Linked DNA regions of Homo sapiens: all the other regions are linked to region 3. The links are contacts of gene promoters, found by promoter capture Hi-C in human tissues and cell types (Jung and others, 2019). All regions are on one chromosome and are shown on one strand. Each heading gives the region's core, a stretch centred on a gene start or on the middle of the fragment in contact. The rest is flanking DNA. Distances are from core to core; before and after follow the strand shown. Region 1 overlaps NCOR2 (nuclear receptor corepressor 2). Region 2 overlaps ZNF664-RFLNA (ZNF664-RFLNA readthrough). Region 3 holds the start of UBC (ubiquitin C).

Region 1 (2,700 bases), core at 30-2,529, 520 kb after region 3:
GCCGCTAGCTTAGGGCGCAGTCTCCAGACCCTGCTCCCTAGGTTTGGGTCCCAGCTGTGCCTCCTGCAGAGTCTGACCCTGAGCAGGTACCTACACTTTGGGGCCTCGGCCCCCGCCACCTCTGTCTTCGCCCCGGCGATGGGGGTCGGAGGTAAGTCACCTGCCAAGCAAATGTACAGTGACAACTGGAGGAACTTCCATGGTGCTGGGGGCCACCAGTCAGAGGGCTACCCCGAGGAAGGGGCCGACACCCAGAGCACGAAATAATAGTGAATATCACCCAGTAACACCGTGGAGCCCATCCTGCGTGCTGGGCACTGCTGGAAGCTTTGTGTGTATGAAGTCACTTTATCTCTACCAACCTGACTAGGAGGCAGGTGCTGTTAATACTTCTGTTATTCAAATGAGGAAACCGAGGCCTAGAGAGGCTTAGTGAGCAGCCTAGGGTCACACAGCTGTGAAGTGGTAGAGCTGGGATTTGAACCCAGGCACTCTACTTGCAGAGTAGGAATGGGGTTGGCATGAGAGCTGAACAGGTTAGTCCATGGGCCAACCTGTTGACCAGGTAACAAAGGCAGGACAGGCATGTGCAAAGGCCCCATGGCAGGGGCAGTGTGGCCCCATGAGAAGTGGTTGAATCCCAGAAGGTAGAGGGGCCACCGGGAGCCTGGCCTTGCCAGCATGGGATGGAGTGTAGCTATTACTCTAGAGCGTGGGAGGCCACTGGGGAGGGGCTGGGGACATGATGGCCATAGGGTTTCTGGTGGGCAAGTGAGCAACCTCCCTTCTTGTGTGCATGCGGCTGTGGCTGCCTGCCCTGGGGCTTGTGCTGCCTGAGGACCGAGAATGTTCAGGAGGCAGCTTCCCCAGGAACCGGGCAGCTCCGGGGAGCTGGCCGCCTGCCCTCGGGCCCAGCGCCAAGTGGGGAAGGAGGGGCAGGGCAGGAGCAGGGCTGGGATGAGGGACTCGGTTCCCCTGGGAAAGGTCAGCCTGGCCTGGCTTGGAAGCCTGACCCAGCTGTGCGAGAGGCCCGAGGCTCTGCTGGCAGCTCCTCCAGGCCCCAGCCCTCTTCTCTGGCGGGCAGAGAACCTGCTGTGGAGGGGGTTGGGAGGCTCCCGGTCACACCATTGTCACACCATTCTAGACCGGGAGTTGGCTCTGGCCCGCCTCCGGGCTGCCAGTCCTTCCCAATCTCCAGGGAGCGGCCAACAGTGGGAGGATGTGCAAGACCAGGCCCTGGTGGCTCCCAGTAAGCCCGGGCAGACCCCAGAGGCCTCCCCCAGGACTCCAGCTGCCTTGTCTAGTGGCCTTGCCACTTCTCACAGGAGCGAGGCAGGAACCACCCATTGCTGTGCACATGGGCTGGCCTGACGGGCTTTTATAGATGAAGCGTCTAAGGCATGGGAAGGGGAGGGGTGAGCCCCCAGCCTGGAGCCTGGAGAGCAGGACCTCCTCCACTACATGTCCACTGGGAAAGCCTTGGGCTGTGCCCACCATGGGCCCCCCAAAAGAGGAGCGCCTGTGTGCTCTGCCGCACAAAGCTGCCAGAGCTTACAGTGGGGTGGGCGGGCCGGTAGGCAGTGCTGCTGCTCCTGGGTTTGGGTCTGCCCGGCTACTTCCTGGTGCAGCTGTCCGTCAGGGCCCAGCAGGAGGCGACACTCGAGCTGTGTGACTCAGGAGGGGTGGTATACCAGGCAGGGACGGTGCGGTGCCTCGGGGCTCGCGTCCAAGGAGACTGTCACCACGTGTGGTCTGGAGAGAGACCACTAGGGAGGGTGCATGTCTGGGGCTGGTTGGCCTCCCGGCCGGATATGTGAGAAACAGTCTGTTGTGATGGTTTGGAGGGAGGAAAAAATTGGGGTTTCTGCAGGAACTTGGGGTACAGCCAGACACAGGGGCAGGGTCTGGACCACACTCTTGCTCCTGTCAGCACCCTTGAAGATGAAATCAGGCATCAACAAGCCCCCCTTCCCTCCTAGGGGAGACCCATGAATCCGCATCCACATGGCTCCTGACTCAGGGAAGGAGCACCTGGCGGTCGATGCGGTAGTAATGATGCCTGTCGTCACGTGGCGTGGCTGGTGCTCACGAACAAGGCAGGCCCTCCACACGCGTGTGTACACACGCACGCATACACACGACTTCTGCTTTGCACAGGAGAAGACCAAGGCCAGAGGGAGAGCCAGTGCTCACCCAGCCCACTGCGGTGGACACAGGGCATGGGGTGGTCTGTCTGACCCCCCAGGCTGGCTTCCAACTTTGCTCTGCTCTGTAGGAAAACGTGACATTGAAAGGTGTAACGTGGCACTTCCGGAAATGGTAGGCGAGACAGCGCCAGGTCGTATGCAGGTGACTTTATTTCATCTTAATGAGTCTGGGTTTTTTTGAGAGCTGGGAGAAGACGTAGCTTTTTCACATCGTACCTATGATTTACGGGTATAATTGCTGATGCGGAGGCTAAGGCAGATAGCGAGGCTGATTTTTGAAAGAGTAGATGGAGAGAAAAGAGTGGGGAGGTGCAAGTCCAGGTGTGATGTTATCCAGCCAACATCCTGATAGGATTTCAGGATGGCAGGAGTTCGGGAAGTCCTGACAAGACACGCAGGAGTGCCCGGCCTGTCAAGGGTGTCAATGCGGAGGCACCGTCCCTGTGGAACCCCCCCCCCGCCAGGGCTTGGGGTTTCTGAAATGAGGAAGTGG
Region 2 (2,882 bases), core at 17-2,516, 870 kb after region 3:
GAGGACAGACCCCGCGACAGCAGAGATTTTTGTTTCCAAAGAAAAGTTCATTTCTCTTCTCACAGCAGGGCCTGGCTTTAAATATTTGTTGAGTTAATTTTGCTCTTCTCCTAATACTTAAGTTTCATTAAGGAGCTGAGGTACCTACAATAAAAATATGAAGGAACACAGGAGAGCTGTTCCTTTGTCTTCTCCTTGGGAAGTCTGGGGCTTCTGCTTCTGGTGCGGTGCTGTCATCCCTAGCAGCTCCATCGTGCATTTGGTGGCCTCTCTTTTTCCTCTTTTTTTTTTTTTTTTGAGATGGAGTCTCACTCTGTTGCCCAGGCTGGAGTGCAGTGGCGCAATCTCGGCTCACTGCAAGCTCCGCCTCCCAAGTTCAAGTGATTCTCCTGCCTCCGCGTCCCAAGTACCTGGGATTACAGGTTCCTGCTGCCACACCCAGCTATTTTTTGTATTTTTAGTAGAGACGGGGTTTTGCCATGTTGCCCAGGCTGGTCTCGAACTCCTGACCTCAGGTGATCTGCCTACCTTGGCTTCCCAAAGTGCTGAGATTACAGGCATGAGCCACTGTGCCCGGCCTCGGTGGCCTCTCTTGACCAGTGATAAACAGGTGGCAGCAAAAGACAGGGAGAGGCCAGACTTGTGCAAACGGGCCCAGTGGAAGCACCTCTAGTGCCTAAGGCATGCATGCACTCTGTTCCTCTAATTTGGGGATGGAATCCAAAATCCCGGCCTACCTCAGTGGTTCTCAACCAGGGTAGGGGCTCCCTGACCCACGTCCCAGGAAACAAACAGCATCACTAAGAGACCCTCTGCTCACCCCGAGTGGCTTCCACACGTCACTCTCCTGAGCAGCCACGCAGGGTACTGGGCAGAGGAAGGACAAGCAGGGTAGGGGAGAGGCCCTGGCTCATCCCGCGTTGCTGGAAGGGGGCTCGTCCTTCGCCTGGTGCAGGGGTCCCTGCTTAGGGATGCAGGAACCCCTGCCAGTCTCTAGGCCAGGAGAAATGCTTGTGACAGGGCAAACATTCCGTCTACTGGTGCTCCTGGAACCTATCCTCATATTCAACGCCACAGAGATACAGTTTTCTGCTGAAAGAGTTCCGACTCAGGGTAAGACAGAATTTGGGATTAATAAGGTGACCCTAGAACACCTCCCATAGAAGAGAGATCTGTGTGGGTGGCTTCCGGTCCTCACATGGGAGAAAGACTCCATTCAACTTGAGTCCATCAGATCAACATTTCTCCGCAATCATTCATGATTAAAACAAGATAATAAAAAGAAAGGCAGAAGAAAGAATTAAAGATATTCCCTAGTGATTGTTCAATTTTACTGGTGTGCTGATGGAAATGGTGTAATCTCATTGCTGCAAGAAGCCGTATAGTTGGGGAAAGCCTCTTTTATGAATGTCAAGCATCCCTCCTATCTGGGGGAACCCCCCATTCCGTGGGGCTTGCTGTGAGGCAGGGACCCACCACCCGCTACGGCCAACGAAGGCTGAGGTACAGATAACCCAGCCCCGGGAGCTGTGGCGTAGGCATGTGGCCTCAGCCTGGAACCTGGTACCTGTGAATGTGACCTTATCTGCAAGAAGGACTTTGCAGATGTAATCAAGTTCAGATGAGGTCATACTGGATTAGGGTGTGCCCTAAATCCAGTATGACTGGTGTCCTTCTAAGAAGAGGGAAATCTGGACACAGAGACACACGCAGAAGGAAGATGGCCACATGGAGATGGAGGCAGAGATAGGAGTGAAACATCCACAAGCCCACTGAAGCTGAGGGTTGCCGCGGCCCCCGGAAGCTGAGAGGCACAAAACACATTCCTCCCTAGGGCCTCAGTGGGTACGTGCCCCTGTGGCCTTCTGGCCTCCAGAATTGTGAGGGTGAACTTCTGCTATTATAAGACACCTGGCACGTGGGCTTTGATATGGCAACTACAGGGCGCTAACACAGATGCCCACACTAAGGACCTGACCCTTGAGGCTGTGACACAGAGATCCAGTGATGGGGAGTTTCCCAGCAGCAGGACAGCACCAAAGGCCCATCAGGACAGCAAGTGTCAGAGGCTGCAGGGCCCCAGAGACCAGGACAGATTGCCCAGGGCAGTGGCCAATGTCTGATAATGGCAGGACTTATGGCGGCGTCCACATCAGCCTGTACCTGTGACCCTTGACCTGCCTAGCTGCTCTTGGTCTTACCGGTTTTACAAGCCTGACTCTCAGTCGGGCGCAGTGGCTCACACCTGTAATCCCGGCACTTTGGGAGGCCAAAGGAGGCAGATCACTTGAGGCCAGGAGTTTGAGACCAGCCTGGCCAACATGGTGAAACCCCGTCTCTACTAAAAATACAAAAAAATTAGCTGGGCATGGTGGTGGGCGCCTGTAATTGCAGCTATTTGGGAGGCTGAGGCAGGAGAATCTCTTGAACGCAGGAGGCAGAGGTTGCAGTGAGCCGAGATCATGCCACTGCATGCCAGCATGGGTGACAGAGCGAGACTCCATCTCAAAAACAAATAGAAAAAAAATGATAAAATAAAACCTGATTCTCCATTCCAAACGCTGCCCAATATCCTTCTAGAAAGGTCCTATTCTGCTCAAGTTAGCCAGTTAATTTCTACTGTTTGCAAGCAAAATCCCTGACTGGTATAAAGCCTCATCCAAATAATTCAGAATACATTATCTATGCATACAAAAGGCCCCGGAGCTTTTTTCTGACTCTCAACTGGACATAATCGTTACATGCCTGTGAACACTCAAGCAGTGATCATCACCAGTAATTCATCAATGTTGCAATGACAGGTGATGGGTAGTTAATGACTATTGTGAAAACTGCACTTATCTCTGGGGGTTTACTTAGCTGTAAGAAGTAAGCTTTACTTC
Region 3 (2,888 bases), core at 389-2,888:
ATTTCCCAGTAACACATGAATTCATTCTCTTTAAAATGTTAAAAATTGGAGATGTCAAAGTCTGTTTTGAACAATGCACAGATCTTGGATTTTCATAAATACACAGAAACATGGGTTACCATAGAAAATATATAGCAGGTTCATTTTGCTTTGATGCATATTTTAAGTCTGCCGTTTAAATAATGTAATGTTCATAACTTAAAACAAGAATGCAGCCTTTTCCTAATGGCAAAATATTTTTCAGTTGGTAGCCTCTTTTTCTCTTTTTTTTGAAGCTTTTAAGGGTAGAAATCAAAATAGCCTCCCTACCTCCAATACATTTGTAGAAACAGGGACTATTTGTAGAAGAGTCCAGAAGGAACAGTGGCTGGGAAATTGAGGGCATGAGGGAGACTTTTCACTGTACACTTTAAAAAGACACATTTAAAAAATCTCACCATGTTCGTATATTTTAAAACATTTAAAAAATATACTGAAGAAATGACACGTAGGGATCACAAAATAGGTTGTGGTAAAAATTTAAAAAGCTGGCTGGTGATGCTTTTCTCCCCACTTCTTTTACCAAAATAGAATTGCCCTGTAGAATTACATTTCATATTTGACACCCTACCCTGCACTGAAATAAGGTTGGGATTCTATTCCTGTCTTTTAAAATCTCCGGTTTAAATGGGTCCGATTATTGAATGGATCCTGCTTACAATAATCGTACCCATTGAAACCAGAGAAATTTCCATGCCTCCCTGTTGGCATCAAGTAGGACCTTTCCATACCTGGCCCTCAGAATGTACAGGAAGGTGGAAGAACAGTCTAGAAGGATGTCGTTCGCTCAGCCTTGCGTTCCAGCTAAAATAAAACTGTGTGGGGTTTCCGCCTCTTTTTTCCAAATTTAACCTGGACACCCAGCTCCTCTGCAGTGTCTCCCCTGGAAAGTTCTCGAGCGTTCCCCAGCTTTAGGGCCACGCCCGCCCTGAGATCTGCCGAGTCATTGTCCTTGTCCCGCGGCCCCGGGAGCCCCCCGCGACCGGCCTGGGAGGCTCAGGGAGGTTGAAGGGGGCTGAGCAAAGGAAGCCCCGTCATTACCTCAAATGTGACCCAAAAATAAAGACCCGTCCATCTCGCAGGGTGGGCCAGGGCGGGTCAGGAGGGAGGGGAGGGAGACCCCGACTCTGCAGAAGGCGCTCGCTGCGTGCCCCACGTCCGCCGAACGCGGGGTTCGCGACCCGAGGGGACCGCGGGGGCTGAGGGGAGGGGCCGCGGAGCCGCGGCTAAGGAACGCGGGCCGCCCACCCGCTCCCGGTGCAGCGGCCTCCGCGCCGGGTTTTGGCGCCTCCCGCGGGCGCCCCCCTCCTCACGGCGAGCGCTGCCACGTCAGACGAAGGGCGCAGCGAGCGTCCTGATCCTTCCGCCCGGACGCTCAGGACAGCGGCCCGCTGCTCATAAGACTCGGCCTTAGAACCCCAGTATCAGCAGAAGGACATTTTAGGACGGGACTTGGGTGACTCTAGGGCACTGGTTTTCTTTCCAGAGAGCGGAACAGGCGAGGAAAAGTAGTCCCTTCTCGGCGATTCTGCGGAGGGATCTCCGTGGGGCGGTGAACGCCGATGATTATATAAGGACGCGCCGGGTGTGGCACAGCTAGTTCCGTCGCAGCCGGGATTTGGGTCGCAGTTCTTGTTTGTGGATCGCTGTGATCGTCACTTGGTGAGTAGCGGGCTGCTGGGCTGGCCGGGGCTTTCGTGGCCGCCGGGCCGCTCGGTGGGACGGAGGCGTGTGGAGAGACCGCCAAGGGCTGTAGTCTGGGTCCGCGAGCAAGGTTGCCCTGAACTGGGGGTTGGGGGGAGCGCAGCAAAATGGCGGCTGTTCCCGAGTCTTGAATGGAAGACGCTTGTGAGGCGGGCTGTGAGGTCGTTGAAACAAGGTGGGGGGCATGGTGGGCGGCAAGAACCCAAGGTCTTGAGGCCTTCGCTAATGCGGGAAAGCTCTTATTCGGGTGAGATGGGCTGGGGCACCATCTGGGGACCCTGACGTGAAGTTTGTCACTGACTGGAGAACTCGGTTTGTCGTCTGTTGCGGGGGCGGCAGTTATGGCGGTGCCGTTGGGCAGTGCACCCGTACCTTTGGGAGCGCGCGCCCTCGTCGTGTCGTGACGTCACCCGTTCTGTTGGCTTATAATGCAGGGTGGGGCCACCTGCCGGTAGGTGTGCGGTAGGCTTTTCTCCGTCGCAGGACGCAGGGTTCGGGCCTAGGGTAGGCTCTCCTGAATCGACAGGCGCCGGACCTCTGGTGAGGGGAGGGATAAGTGAGGCGTCAGTTTCTCTGGTCGGTTTTATGTACCTATCTTCTTAAGTAGCTGAAGCTCCGGTTTTGAACTATGCGCTCGGGGTTGGCGAGTGTGTTTTGTGAAGTTTTTTAGGCACCTTTTGAAATGTAATCATTTGGGTCAATATGTAATTTTCAGTGTTAGACTAGTAAATTGTCCGCTAAATTCTGGCCGTTTTTGGCTTTTTTGTTAGACAATGCAGATCTTCGTGAAGACTCTGACTGGTAAGACCATCACCCTCGAGGTTGAGCCCAGTGACACCATCGAGAATGTCAAGGCAAAGATCCAAGATAAGGAAGGCATCCCTCCTGACCAGCAGAGGCTGATCTTTGCTGGAAAACAGCTGGAAGATGGGCGCACCCTGTCTGACTACAACATCCAGAAAGAGTCCACCCTGCACCTGGTGCTCCGTCTCAGAGGTGGGATGCAAATCTTCGTGAAGACACTCACTGGCAAGACCATCACCCTTGAGGTCGAGCCCAGTGACACCATCGAGAACGTCAAAGCAAAGATCCAGGACAAGGAAGGCATTCCTCCTGACCAGCAGAGGTTGATCTTTGCCGGAAAG

Evidence for each region. The method cuts DNA at HindIII sites, captures the fragments that hold promoters and counts their contacts. A contact is called where the count stands out against the background at its distance.
Region 1: a fragment that was not itself captured here is called in contact with the fragment with the promoter of UBC in region 3 in 1 of the 25 tissues and cell types used here (IMR-90 fibroblasts).
Region 2: a fragment that was not itself captured here is called in contact with the fragment with the promoter of UBC in region 3 in 1 of the 25 tissues and cell types used here (hippocampus).

What each region holds. Positions count from the first base shown.
Region 1 is chr12:124,391,469-124,394,168 of GRCh38, reverse strand. The region is part of intron 18 of NCOR2 (nuclear receptor corepressor 2); the gene reads left to right. Among named protein-coding and RNA genes, the nearest start is that of MIR6880, 56 kb to the right of the region's middle. RefSeq lists an enhancer at 1,527-2,216. The HindIII fragment of the contact is 4,462 bases long and covers 1-2,700 here.
Region 2 is chr12:124,040,852-124,043,733 of GRCh38, reverse strand. All of the region lies in intron 2 of ZNF664-RFLNA (ZNF664-RFLNA readthrough), which reads right to left. Among named protein-coding and RNA genes, the nearest start is that of ZNF664-RFLNA, 69 kb to the right of the region's middle. The HindIII fragment of the contact is 4,891 bases long and covers 1-2,882 here.
Region 3 is chr12:124,913,400-124,916,287 of GRCh38, reverse strand. UBC (ubiquitin C) reads left to right here and starts at 1,638. Exons shown (of 2, transcript NM_021009.7): 1 at 1,638-1,701; 2 at 2,514-2,888. The coding sequence starts at 2,517. MIR5188 (microRNA 5188) reads right to left here and starts at 741; the gene lies at 629-741. RefSeq lists enhancers at 1-285, 1,610-2,059, 1,384-2,341 and a silencer at 1,060-1,399. The HindIII fragment of the contact is 8,951 bases long and covers 1-2,888 here.